Linked DNA regions of Homo sapiens: region 1 is linked to region 2. Evidence: promoter capture Hi-C in 16 types of primary human blood cells and fetal thymus (Javierre and others, 2016). All regions are on one chromosome and are shown on one strand. The core of a region is centred on a gene start or on the middle of the fragment in contact, and the rest is flanking DNA. Distances in the headings are between cores, read along the strand shown. Region 1 holds the start of OLFML2B (olfactomedin like 2B). Region 2 holds the start of UHMK1 (U2AF homology motif kinase 1).

Evidence for each region. Contacts are between HindIII fragments. The CHiCAGO score rates a contact against its expected background, and 5 or more counts as called.
Region 1: the fragment with the promoter of OLFML2B here is called in contact with the fragment with the promoter of UHMK1 in region 2 in 3 of 17 cell types (M2 macrophages, M0 macrophages and M1 macrophages); the score reaches 5.8 in M2 macrophages.

The regions. Positions count from the first base shown.
Region 1 is chr1:162,021,468-162,027,073 of GRCh38, reverse strand. It overlaps OLFML2B (olfactomedin like 2B), which reads left to right and starts at 3,205. Exons shown (of 8, transcript NM_015441.3): 1 at 3,205-3,817. The coding sequence starts at 3,644. RefSeq lists silencers at 2,581-2,875, 2,944-3,093. The HindIII fragment of the contact is 12,162 bases long and covers 662-5,606 here.
Region 2 is chr1:162,496,071-162,501,057 of GRCh38, reverse strand. It overlaps UHMK1 (U2AF homology motif kinase 1), which reads right to left and starts at 3,240. Exons shown (of 8, transcript NM_175866.5): 1 at 2,790-3,240; 2 at 811-1,103; 3 at 1-145. The coding sequence starts at 3,057. RefSeq lists enhancers at 2,503-3,003, 3,190-3,269, 3,004-3,504. The HindIII fragment of the contact is 6,861 bases long and covers 2,176-4,987 here.

The DNA of each region.
Region 1 (5,606 bases), core at 1,956-4,455, 470 kb after region 2:
TACTCTTTTGGGTCCTGCATACTGATGAAGCTACTGACTCAGCTAGTTTGAAGGACCCCATGAGATCCTGACTCACCAAAGAAGGCAGTTTCCACATCCTGATGATAGAACTTTGTTCCATCGTCTTGGCCCAACCAATTAATAACCTCAATTTTTTAGCCACTCACTCTCCACAATCCCCTTAAATTAAAACGCCAGCCCAGAGCTCCTTGGAGAGATGGATTCAAGGGTCTCCTCCCATCTCCTGACGTGGTGCCCTGCAATCATCAAATTCTTTCTCTGCTGCAAACCCTGCTGACATAGTGTAATTGGTCTGTTACTGCACAGCGGGCATAAGAACCTGTTGGTCCTATAACACTTTGACTGTGGTCAAAGACACAATCAAAGACAAGAAGTGAGGGAAGAGTAGCACCAGAAAGGTCCTCTCTCCTATTTGTTTCTTTTATCAGGAAGCAAAATATCTTGTCCGGGTGGTTACCCCTAGCTGTAAAGGAGACTGGGAAATTGAATGTCTGGCACAGGGGTAGCTGGGACTTGCTTAAATCAATTATGACTAGGTCAAAAAGCCAATGCTGTAAGAATAATGGAGTGGAAAATGGAAAGAGCTTGGGTCCTCGCTGACATCACTGAGTTGCTGAATTAAATTTTAAACAGCCAAGCTTGTCTTCTTAGAGTGGGATAATAAATGTATATTTGACTGAGACATTCCTAGAAGGATTTTCTATCACTTGCAGTCAAATGCACCCTAATGGATACAGAGATGGTATTTATAAAGGTAACTGAGCCTACACCCAGTTGGACAATTCGTAATTTCCATTCATTCAACCAATATTTATTTAGTGTCCACTTTGTTCTAGGCACTGGTTAAACTCTGAAGATGTAATGGTGAGCAAAACTAACAAGGTCCTTGCCCTCTTGAATTTATAGTCTGGTGGGGAAGACAGGCACCCCCAAAACAACCCACAAAGGAGGAATATAAATATCCATCTCTCCTGCTTCTATGAAAAAGAGGTACATGGTATTATGGGAGCATTTAATAGAGAAATTATGCTGGTGGTGGAGTCAAGGAAGGCTGCCCTGAGAAGTGAGCAGCCATCTGAAATATGAATATGCACATTCAGGATTATGTCTTTGCCCAGAATGCTCTCTTTCTCTCCCCTGCCATGGCCCCCCCTCCCATCATGTTGCCTTATCCACTGTTTTGTTGAAACCTCCCATCATCCCAGTCATCTTCAGTATCATGCTTTCATGAAATCCACACTGACCTTTCCACTAGAAGTGACCTATTCCTTATTTAAACCCCATGAGATATGTTCTTACTCTGCCTCACAATTTCAGTGCTTGTTCTGCTTACCTCCTGACTCCCACGCCCACTTTGTAAGATGTGGACTATCTCATCTTCCCATTAAATGTCTAGCAACCTAGCTTGTTGTCTTGCACTTAATCAACATTCAATGCTTACTGTAATTGATTTTTTTTTTTTTTTTGAGACCAAGTATTGCTCTGTAGCCCAGGCTATAGTGCAGTGGCGGATCTCGGCTCACTGTAACCTCTGCCTCCAGGGTTCAAGCGATTCTTCTGCCTCAGCCTCTAGAGTAGCTGGGATTACAGGTGCATGCCACCAGGCTAGGCTAATTTTTGTATTTTCAGTAGAGATTACAGGGGTGAGCCACCACACTCCGCCCCTTAACTGAATTTTAAAACTACACTTTATCGGTGGGGCACAGTGGCTCACCCCTGTAATCCCAGTGCTTTGGGAGGGCAAGGCGGATGGATGGCTTGAGGCCAGGAGGTCGAGACCAGCCTGGCAACACGGCGAAACCCCAACTCTAGTAAAAATACAAAAAATTAAACGGGCATGGTGGCGTGCGCCTGTAATCCCAGGTACTCTGAAGGTCGAGGCACGAGAATCACTTGAACCCAGGAGGCGGAGGTTGCAGTGAGCCAAGATCATCCCGCCACTGCACTCCAGCCTGGGTGGCAGAGCAAGACTCTGTCTCAAACAAACAATCAAATACACCACATTTTATCAATGTTTACCCCCATATAGTTTCAGAAAAGATTTGATAGCTTACACAGAGGAGGGTGTGTGCATGATGTCCCCACAAACCTAGACACCCAGAGCATTGAATTTTTGTCCATAAACTGAATTTTTTGAAGATTAAAATATACTAATAAGGGTTATTATTATACTTATGTCAACTATTACTTATATGCGCTAGTTTCCTTAGTTTATTACAACCCTTATTCCTCAGCATAAGAAGCAAGGTGTTTGAATTTCCCAAGGGTGCATAATATCCTTTGAAGGGGCCTGGCTCTGTTCAATATTCCGAGTGACAGTTGTCCAGGATGGCACAGTGCCCTTCCTTAAATTCACATATTGGTAATCTTCACTGTAGGTTTATAAAAGGTTGTCCTCAGTAATTGAGGGACATAGTAACATAATTGCACACTATTGAAAGTGGACTCCCTCTTAGAGATAATCTGGTAACAGAGACCCGGAGATTTGTCCCAAACCAGGAAGACAGGAAGAGCTGTTCCCTTTGGTAATCATTTATCAGGCAGTAGCTTTCCCCATGGGGACTCGCGGAGAGTGTCGGAGATGTACAGTCATTCCCCTAACTTTCAACGTTTACACAACTCAGGACACACTCTAGGAAGGAATTCAATGATTTTCCTCTGGGTGGAGGTATTACTAGGTTCTAAAGCCGTGGCAGGCAAGCAGCTACCAACGGCGCTAAGTTCAAAGCTGCCCGAGAACTCGCCCAGAGTTAAGTCAGGGAAAAGAAACGCCTGGGAACAAACGCGCCTTCTCCCCTGCCCCAGGTGTGCTAAAGGACGATGCCGCAGATCCCTAACTAGCTCAGCCTTGGAGCGAGCGCTGGGTGCCTGCGATGGAAAGTCGCTCTTCTCGCCAAGAATGGTCGAACCCCAAAACTTCAGGGACGCCGCTCGGAGTAACTTCTCTTCACTCACTTGCGATCAGATGAGAAGAAAGTAAAGCCCTTCCAACGTCACCCTCAGCCGGCGCGCGGCAGCTGAGTCCCAGCGGGGACGGGGTCCGCCGGGTACCCCTCCGCCCGAGCCCTGTGCGCTTCCAGGTCCTCCTCCTCCGCGCGGTCACTGGCTGCATCTCCGCCGCCCCGGCACAATAGAGGCTCCGCCCTCCTTCCGCGCGAGCTCTCCGCGGCTCCCTAGCCCAGCAGCCCTCGCCCAGCAGCCCGCGCCGCCACCGCCTCTTCCCTCCCCGTGTCCGGTCCCCGTGCGTCCCGAGGCTCCCCGCCGCCCGTCCCGGCGCGCACCGCGGGCGTCTGTCCGAACGCCTTCCAGCCACCTGAGCCCTCCTGCGGGCGACTCGCTCAGCTAGCCCGTGCCCGCCTCCACCTTCTCCGTCATCCCCTCTTCCTTGCGTCCGGCTCTCCACTGGGGCTGCACAGTCGAGGGCTGCTCGCGTCGGGAAGGAGATGCCCAGAGTCTCTGGGGCGCACCCTCCCGTCCCGCTCAGCCGCACCCAGCTTTAGAAGGTGCTCTCAGCAGCCACTTTCGGGCTCTAGCGAGGACACCCTCTCGCAGAAGTCCTTGCCGAGACCCCCCGCCCCAGCCATTCTCTGAAGGGGCTGAGGACACTCTTATCGCGCCCCTCATGGCCAAGCCTCGGCTGCTAGTTCTCTACTTCGCTCTGATTGTGGTTCCGGCCTGGGTGTCCAGCATTGTCCTCACAGGGACAAGCGAGCCCCCAGATGCGCAGACAGTGGCGCCTGCGGAGGACGAGACTCTGCAAAACGAGGCGGACAACCAGGAGAACGTTTTATCTCAGGTAGGATGCAGAGTGCCACGACCGCCCTTCTTGCCCTGGATGGTGGTGAGAGCCAGAAGCTGGTCCTTGCTGAAGTGTTTGAGGGCAGCTGTTTTTCCTTCCATTACCAATGGAAAGGGCTTTTGATTTTTCATGTATCGGAATATTTTCTTAATGGAAGGATATAGGTTCTCCTCGCAAAATCATAGGGTGCTTAAAGGTCATCAAATCAGGAGAAAGGAGAGGTGAAGGAAGGGAAGATGCCGCTCGACTTCTTGAGAAGAAAGAAAACAAAGTTGTTTTTGGTTTCAGGGTTGTAAAAAGTATCTCTTGTCTATGTGGCTGTCTGTCAGAATTGGAATGTGAAAACAGCCGGATATGTTGACCAGGAGGCAGATGGCATATCCCATCGGGAGATACTTTATGGCAGAGGGTGGGACACCAGGCGGGAGCATGGGGTGAAGTCAGAACAGAAGCATGTGTGATGAATGTGAGGTGACCCCCAAACAGAGAGACTGAGAACATGACGGAGTGTACTGGGAGGGGAGAGTGGGAATGCAGATGCAGGCAGCTAGGGCAGACTGTCAGTGGGGGCCCGAGTAACCCATGATAGTGATGGGCTTCGTAAAGTGTCCGTTTACCAAGTACTTAAACTTGTTTTTTCTGACTCAATCTTCAAAACACCCTAATACCCATTTATAGATAAAGACCATAAGAGATACATGGGTAGGCCGGGCGCGGTGGCTCACGCCTGTAATCCCAGCACTTTGGGAGGCCGAGGCGGGCAGATCACGAGGTCAGGAGTTCAAGAGCAGCCTGGCCAATATGATGAAACCCCATCTCTACTAAAAATACCAAAATTAGCCAGGCGTGGTGGCAGGCACCTGTAGTCCCAGCTACTCAGGAGGCTGAGGCAGGAGAATCGCTTGAACCCGGGAGGTGGAGGTTGCAGTAAGCGGAGATCGCGCCACTGCACTCCATCCTGAGTGACAGAGTGAGACTCCGTCTCAAAAAAAAAAAAAAAAAAAAAAAAGAAGAGATACATGGGTAGAGCCAGGGCGTCTGACAGTCTTCAGCCCAGATCTCATGTCTGTAAGGGGTAGTTCTCTCTGGAGTGTTTATTTTGTGCTCTCCAGAGCCGGCATGATGACGTGTGGTGGGTGTCACCAGAATCCTCAGAATGGGGGATGTCTGAAAAAGGATCCTCCAGGGCTGCCTGTACCTTCACCTCCACCAAGCCCTAGGACTGGGCCTTGTCTCCTTCCTGTAGAGAGAATAATCAGCTGCACTTTGGGATTTATCAAACACTAGCCTCCTCACTCTTCCTTTAATAATGATGCTAATGTATGCCCTCTGCCCCCCCATTACCTCCCACTGACCCCTAAATCGAAAAGACATAAAAATCTCTCACACTGGGGCTCTGGAACACTATCAACAAAAACTTTCCTGAAACCCGAGCCTCCTGTAAGGAAGGAATCCACCCAGGGTTCTCAGAGCAGGGTTATGTAGGAATCCAGGCAGAGTTTCAGAGAGCAGACAGCCACAATTTACTATCAGCCCGTAAAGAACAGCCGCTTAAGTCACCCTTAACTACACCACCTTCTTCCACTGATCCATTCTGTGTTTGACAACAGCCCTAAAGCAAATATTAGTATTAGAAGAAACCCAATCTTTGCAAGGAAAACATTACAAGTCTTCTTCCCCCAGACAGCATCCCAAGGAACATTTCTACTCAAACAAGCTCAATGCTTGCCCACTGAAATCATTAATCAAATGAAGGGAACCCTTCTGCCTGCCTAGGAAGGGAGCC
Region 2 (4,987 bases), core at 1,991-4,490:
ACATTTCCAGTAAAATGATTCCTAGGCTCCACAGATCAACAGCTGAGGTACATTCTGTATCACTCTGCAGGCCAGCCTGGGCCAAGCAATTTTGCAATTCTGCTTCTGGAGCCCGATACCCGTCTGTCTGAATATACTTTACATCCTAAAAAAGATGAGTAAATATTACAACCAATAAAAAAGCTGCTCCCTTTCTATCCATCTCTACAGTGAATTTACTTCCCTAAGAGTGCAGTAAACCCACTGCCAAGCTAAATGCTAAAAATTTTTAGTCCTTGATTACCATAATTCTTTGGTTCATTAACTGGGCAGTTCTCAGAGGCAAGCTGTACATTTCCATATAGCGCTCATAAAGAAGTCTTCTTTGGATTGTCTCTTACCTATTAGGCACTGCTGATAATAAGGACACTGCAAAGAAATGATAAACCATGGAGAAAAGAGGATTTGGCAGAACTATCATATGCATTCTGCCACGAGATACAGCCCCAACACTGAAGAGACCAGGAATAGTAACTCAGCAATTAGCCAAACACGCATAAAATTTAAAAAACCATTCTATGTAGGTTAAGTACTTTTAATAATTCCAGAGCTCTCATGCTTCACTGGCTCCTCCTACCTGACCCAAACATTATGTCCTTTTTTTACACGGTGGCACTGAAATTCTTTTGATTTACTGCATCCCCTGGCATTTCAGTAATTTAGGTTAAAATGACTTGTAAGCCCCTACTAAACTACCCTTGTCATTTAAAAATATTTGGCTTCAACCACTACATTTTAAACTGCGAGAGAAAAGAAAAGGTTATTTCTTACCTGATTGCCTTCTTTGAAGCTAAGTCCAAAGTCAATGAGTTTAAAACATTCATTCTCTGCACTCCACAATATGTTACGTGGTTTGAGGTCCGCATGGACATAGCCCTCATGATGAAGAAAAGCAAGGGCCTCCAAAACATCTCGGGCACAATGCTGTATCATCCACATGGAACAACCCTGGTGACTGGAATATAAGAGCAATTCCGAAACACTGACATCCAGGAGTTCAAGCAACAGACAGCGTGATGGCACATTTGGAGAAAAGTGGATTGTAAACACTCCATACAAAGTCACTAGAAAAAGAAATTATAATACTTTAAAAATCAGACTCAGAGTAAGTCACTACTAAAGTAGGTAACTGCAGTACAAATTTGAGATAGTCTAGATAAGGATAACTTTGATGAGCAAGCTTCCACTGTAATTTATTTTTCCCATGAATAAGATCTTTTGGCAATTGGGTTATTTTAATAAAAATAAGATGAGACAGCCTACAACAGCTGATTACCATTCACAGATACTAAATATGGTACAATTATTCAATTTGTGTTTCACCAAGTACTCATTGGTGATGAACACGAACTTGGAGTGCCAAGCAAAAATGATTAAAAGTAAAAAACCTAAATATAAATAAATAAAACTTACTGTTGCATCATGAGGTCCTTTAAAAAAAAAGAAATTTTTAAAAGTAAAAACCCAAATATTAAGTAACTCTTTTAAAAGGAATGTCACAATGCGCAAAAACCAAACTAAACATTGCTTCTTCATCCAAAACAGCAGTCTAGGTCTGCCACGGTGGCTCATGCCCGTGATCCCAGCATTCTGAGAGACCGAGGCAGGAGGACTGCTTGAGCCCAGGAGTTTGGAGACCAGCCTGGGTAACAAAAGGGGACCTCTTCTCTACAAAAAATTAGCCAGGCTTGGTGCTACGTGCCTGTAGTCCCAGCTACCTGGGAGGCTGAGGTAGGAGCATGGCTTTAGGAGGAATTGGAGGCTGGAGTGAACTGTGATCTCGCCATTGTACTCCAGCCTGGGTGACAGAGTAAGAACTTGTCTCAAAAAAAAAAACTAAAACAAAAATAAACAGCTCTCTATAATCTAAATACTAACAAAGAGATTAAGACTTTTCGGATGAAATTTTAATCTTGCAGAGATCAGGCAAGTCCCTAGGCTTGCAAAATTTTTCCCTTTTCAATACCAAGGTTATAGTAACAGACCATTTAGTAAACTAAAAAAATGTAGCACTAGTGTTAATTCTTCTCCAAAATGATATTATAAAAAAACTCACTCTTCAAATTAACTATGCATCATACTTGCTAGGAAATAAGACTTTTCTTTAATAACCAAAGCTATAACTAATGATAAGCTTTCTGTCGTGTAATGAAAATGAAACCTTTTCACAGATCAATCATCAGTGATCATTACATATCTTACATTCTGAGTATCTGATTCTTGAAACAGTCTCAAGAGAGCAAAGGTATAGTGTTCCTAAATTTCACACTTCTATAAAGGCTCCCATGGAATAGTGCATCATTTCTTCCAAATCCGTACTAAAGATATAATAGGTGAGCTATACGAGTTACTAGCATTGATGTCACAAGGCCCAGACGTAGTTCCCATTTTCTACTGGTATGCAAAGATTCAAAAATTTCCACACAAGACACGACAATCTAGCAAAGACATGCCTCCTCTCACTAGAAAAGATATTTCTGTATGCTAATGAATGCGGCATTCTCCGATGAGACTCGAAGCAAGACAATTTACTGAGCATCTATGTGACACCTGGCAAAGCAGACCACCAACTCCACTATACCGCAGACAGTAATAAAGTGAAAGGGGAAAGGGGCCTGGATGGGGTGATAAAGAGGGCTAAACCCGCTTCTCCCGCAGAAGGGGAGGAAGATGGAACGCCAGACAGCGAGAGGAAGAGTGTGCTCGGACTGTGACCTGGGCAAGAAGAGAAAGGAGACAGCGGCAATTACCGATGTTTCTGTGACCCTGCAACTGTTCCAGCGCCGCCCTCTCTTTGCGGAAACCATACTCGGCGGCAGAGGCCGCAGCCCCGGTGGTTCCTGGCGGCAAGAACTGCTTGAGGGCGCCGGGGGGCGAGCCAGGGTTGCCGCAGCAGCGAACCCGATACACCGAGGCGGAGGAGCCGCTACCCAGACGGCTCTGTACCTGCCACAGCCGCCCGAAGGCCTCCAGAAAACGCGGCGGCTCCGCGCCCCAGGCGCAGCCGGATCCCGCCATCGGTGTGGGTTAAGGGCACGGACACGGGAGCTGACGCGACGCCTGAGGCAGGCCGGCCGGGCCCGCGGTCACATCTCCGCCAGCCGGACCAGCGGCTCCGCAGGGAGGGACCTGCAGCCGCCTCACCGACTCCCGGGACTTCAAGCAGCCATGACACCGGAAGCCGTGGTGCACCCGAGTCCCAGAAGCCGGAAATGGAGGAAGAGCCTATCATACAGGCCGAAGGAGGGGGGGCTCAGAAGGGGCGGGGCCTAGAAGAGATTAGACGCGCTAGGTTTGGAAAAAAGAACCGAGAATAAGAAGTAACCTTAATTATTGAGTATCTACCATTCCAGGCCCAGTGTTAACCGCTTTCACATAGACCTGAAGCCAAAACTGGTCCTTTTTCTTGTTGAGGCACCTCACCTTACCTCACCACTAGGAACCCGAAAAATAAAACCCGGCCTACATTTCTCATAGAAAGGATCCCAAGGAAAACACCCCAGGAACAAAAAGAGAGTTTACCATCACCTCCAGGTCCACGGTCACCAGAACCCATGATTCTGGAAGCCTAGACCTTTGTTCTTCTTTTAGATGTAAACCGAAAATACAATTCTAAGCCCCCCGTGTCGCCAACCATCGGAATGGACTTTCTCCCAGGCCAGGGCACTCTAAAATTCTGGTTCAGTCCATGACGGGAAGTGGGGGTCCGACTAGCCTCATACCTCTCCGGTTAAGGTCAACACAGACCTTCGGTCTGGTAAGAAACATTTACAATCTATTTTCTTGGAAGCCTGGTACCTGGAGGCTTCATCTGCATGACAAAACTTTGGTCTCCACAAGTTCTTATGACAACCCAGACATTCCTTTCTATTGATAACTCTTTCAACCAATTGCCAATTAGAAAAATTTTAAATCTACCTATAACCTGGAAGGACCCATTTCTCCCCCCACCAATTCCCGCTTCGAGTTTTCCCACCTTTCTGGGCCAAATCAATGTATTTCTTAAATATATTTGATTGAAGTCTCATGTCTCCCAAAATGTATAAAACCAAGCTGCACCCCAACCACCTTGGGTACATGTTCTCAGGATCTCCTGAGGGCTGTGTCACAGACCATGGTCACTCATAGTTGGCTCAGAATAAATCTCTTCAAATATTTTACAGAGTTTAACTCTTTTTATCAACATAGTCCACCTTGCCTATGGCTCCCTCATCAAAAAGCATTCACCCTGGGCAAACACGGATCTGTTCCAAATTTTTATTTTTCATTTATTTATTCAATTATTTTATTCATTCAGCAAACGTTTATTGAGTAACAAATGTAGCAAATAGGCATCTCAATCCACAAACTCGAGTGTGTAAGAAATGTAGCCTTCTTTACTTTTCAGTCATTCAACCTTTTCTATTTCAAGATCTATTCTGATTGTGTGGCAAAAACTTAGTATCAGACAATAGGCCCTATCTTCTTTTCTTCAGGTTTTGTGTAAGTTCCCAGCCAGATGAGATGGTTCATGTAGTGCTAAGTGGAAAGTTTGAGGAGAGGTTGAGGACTAAACTCTGACCTGTCTTCTCTCTTGCTCAATTTTTTTTTTTTTTTTTTTTTTTTTTGGTAAGACGGAGTTTCGCTCTTGTTGCCCAGGCTGGGGTGCAATGGCATGATCTCGGCATCTCCGCCCACCGCAACCTCCTCCTCCTGGGGTCCAGCGATTCTCCTGCCTCAGCCTCCCAAGTAGCTGGAATTACAGGAATTTGCCACCATGCCAGCTAATTTTGTATTTTTAGTAGAGATGAAGTTTCTCCATGTTGGTCAGGCTGGTCTCGAACTCCTGCCCTTGTGATCCGCCTGCCTCACCTTCCCAAAGTGCTGGGATTACAAGCGTGAGCCACTGCACCTGGCCCCAAATTCTTATCTAAGGGATGTGAGGAGTCACAGCCTACAAACCATAAAA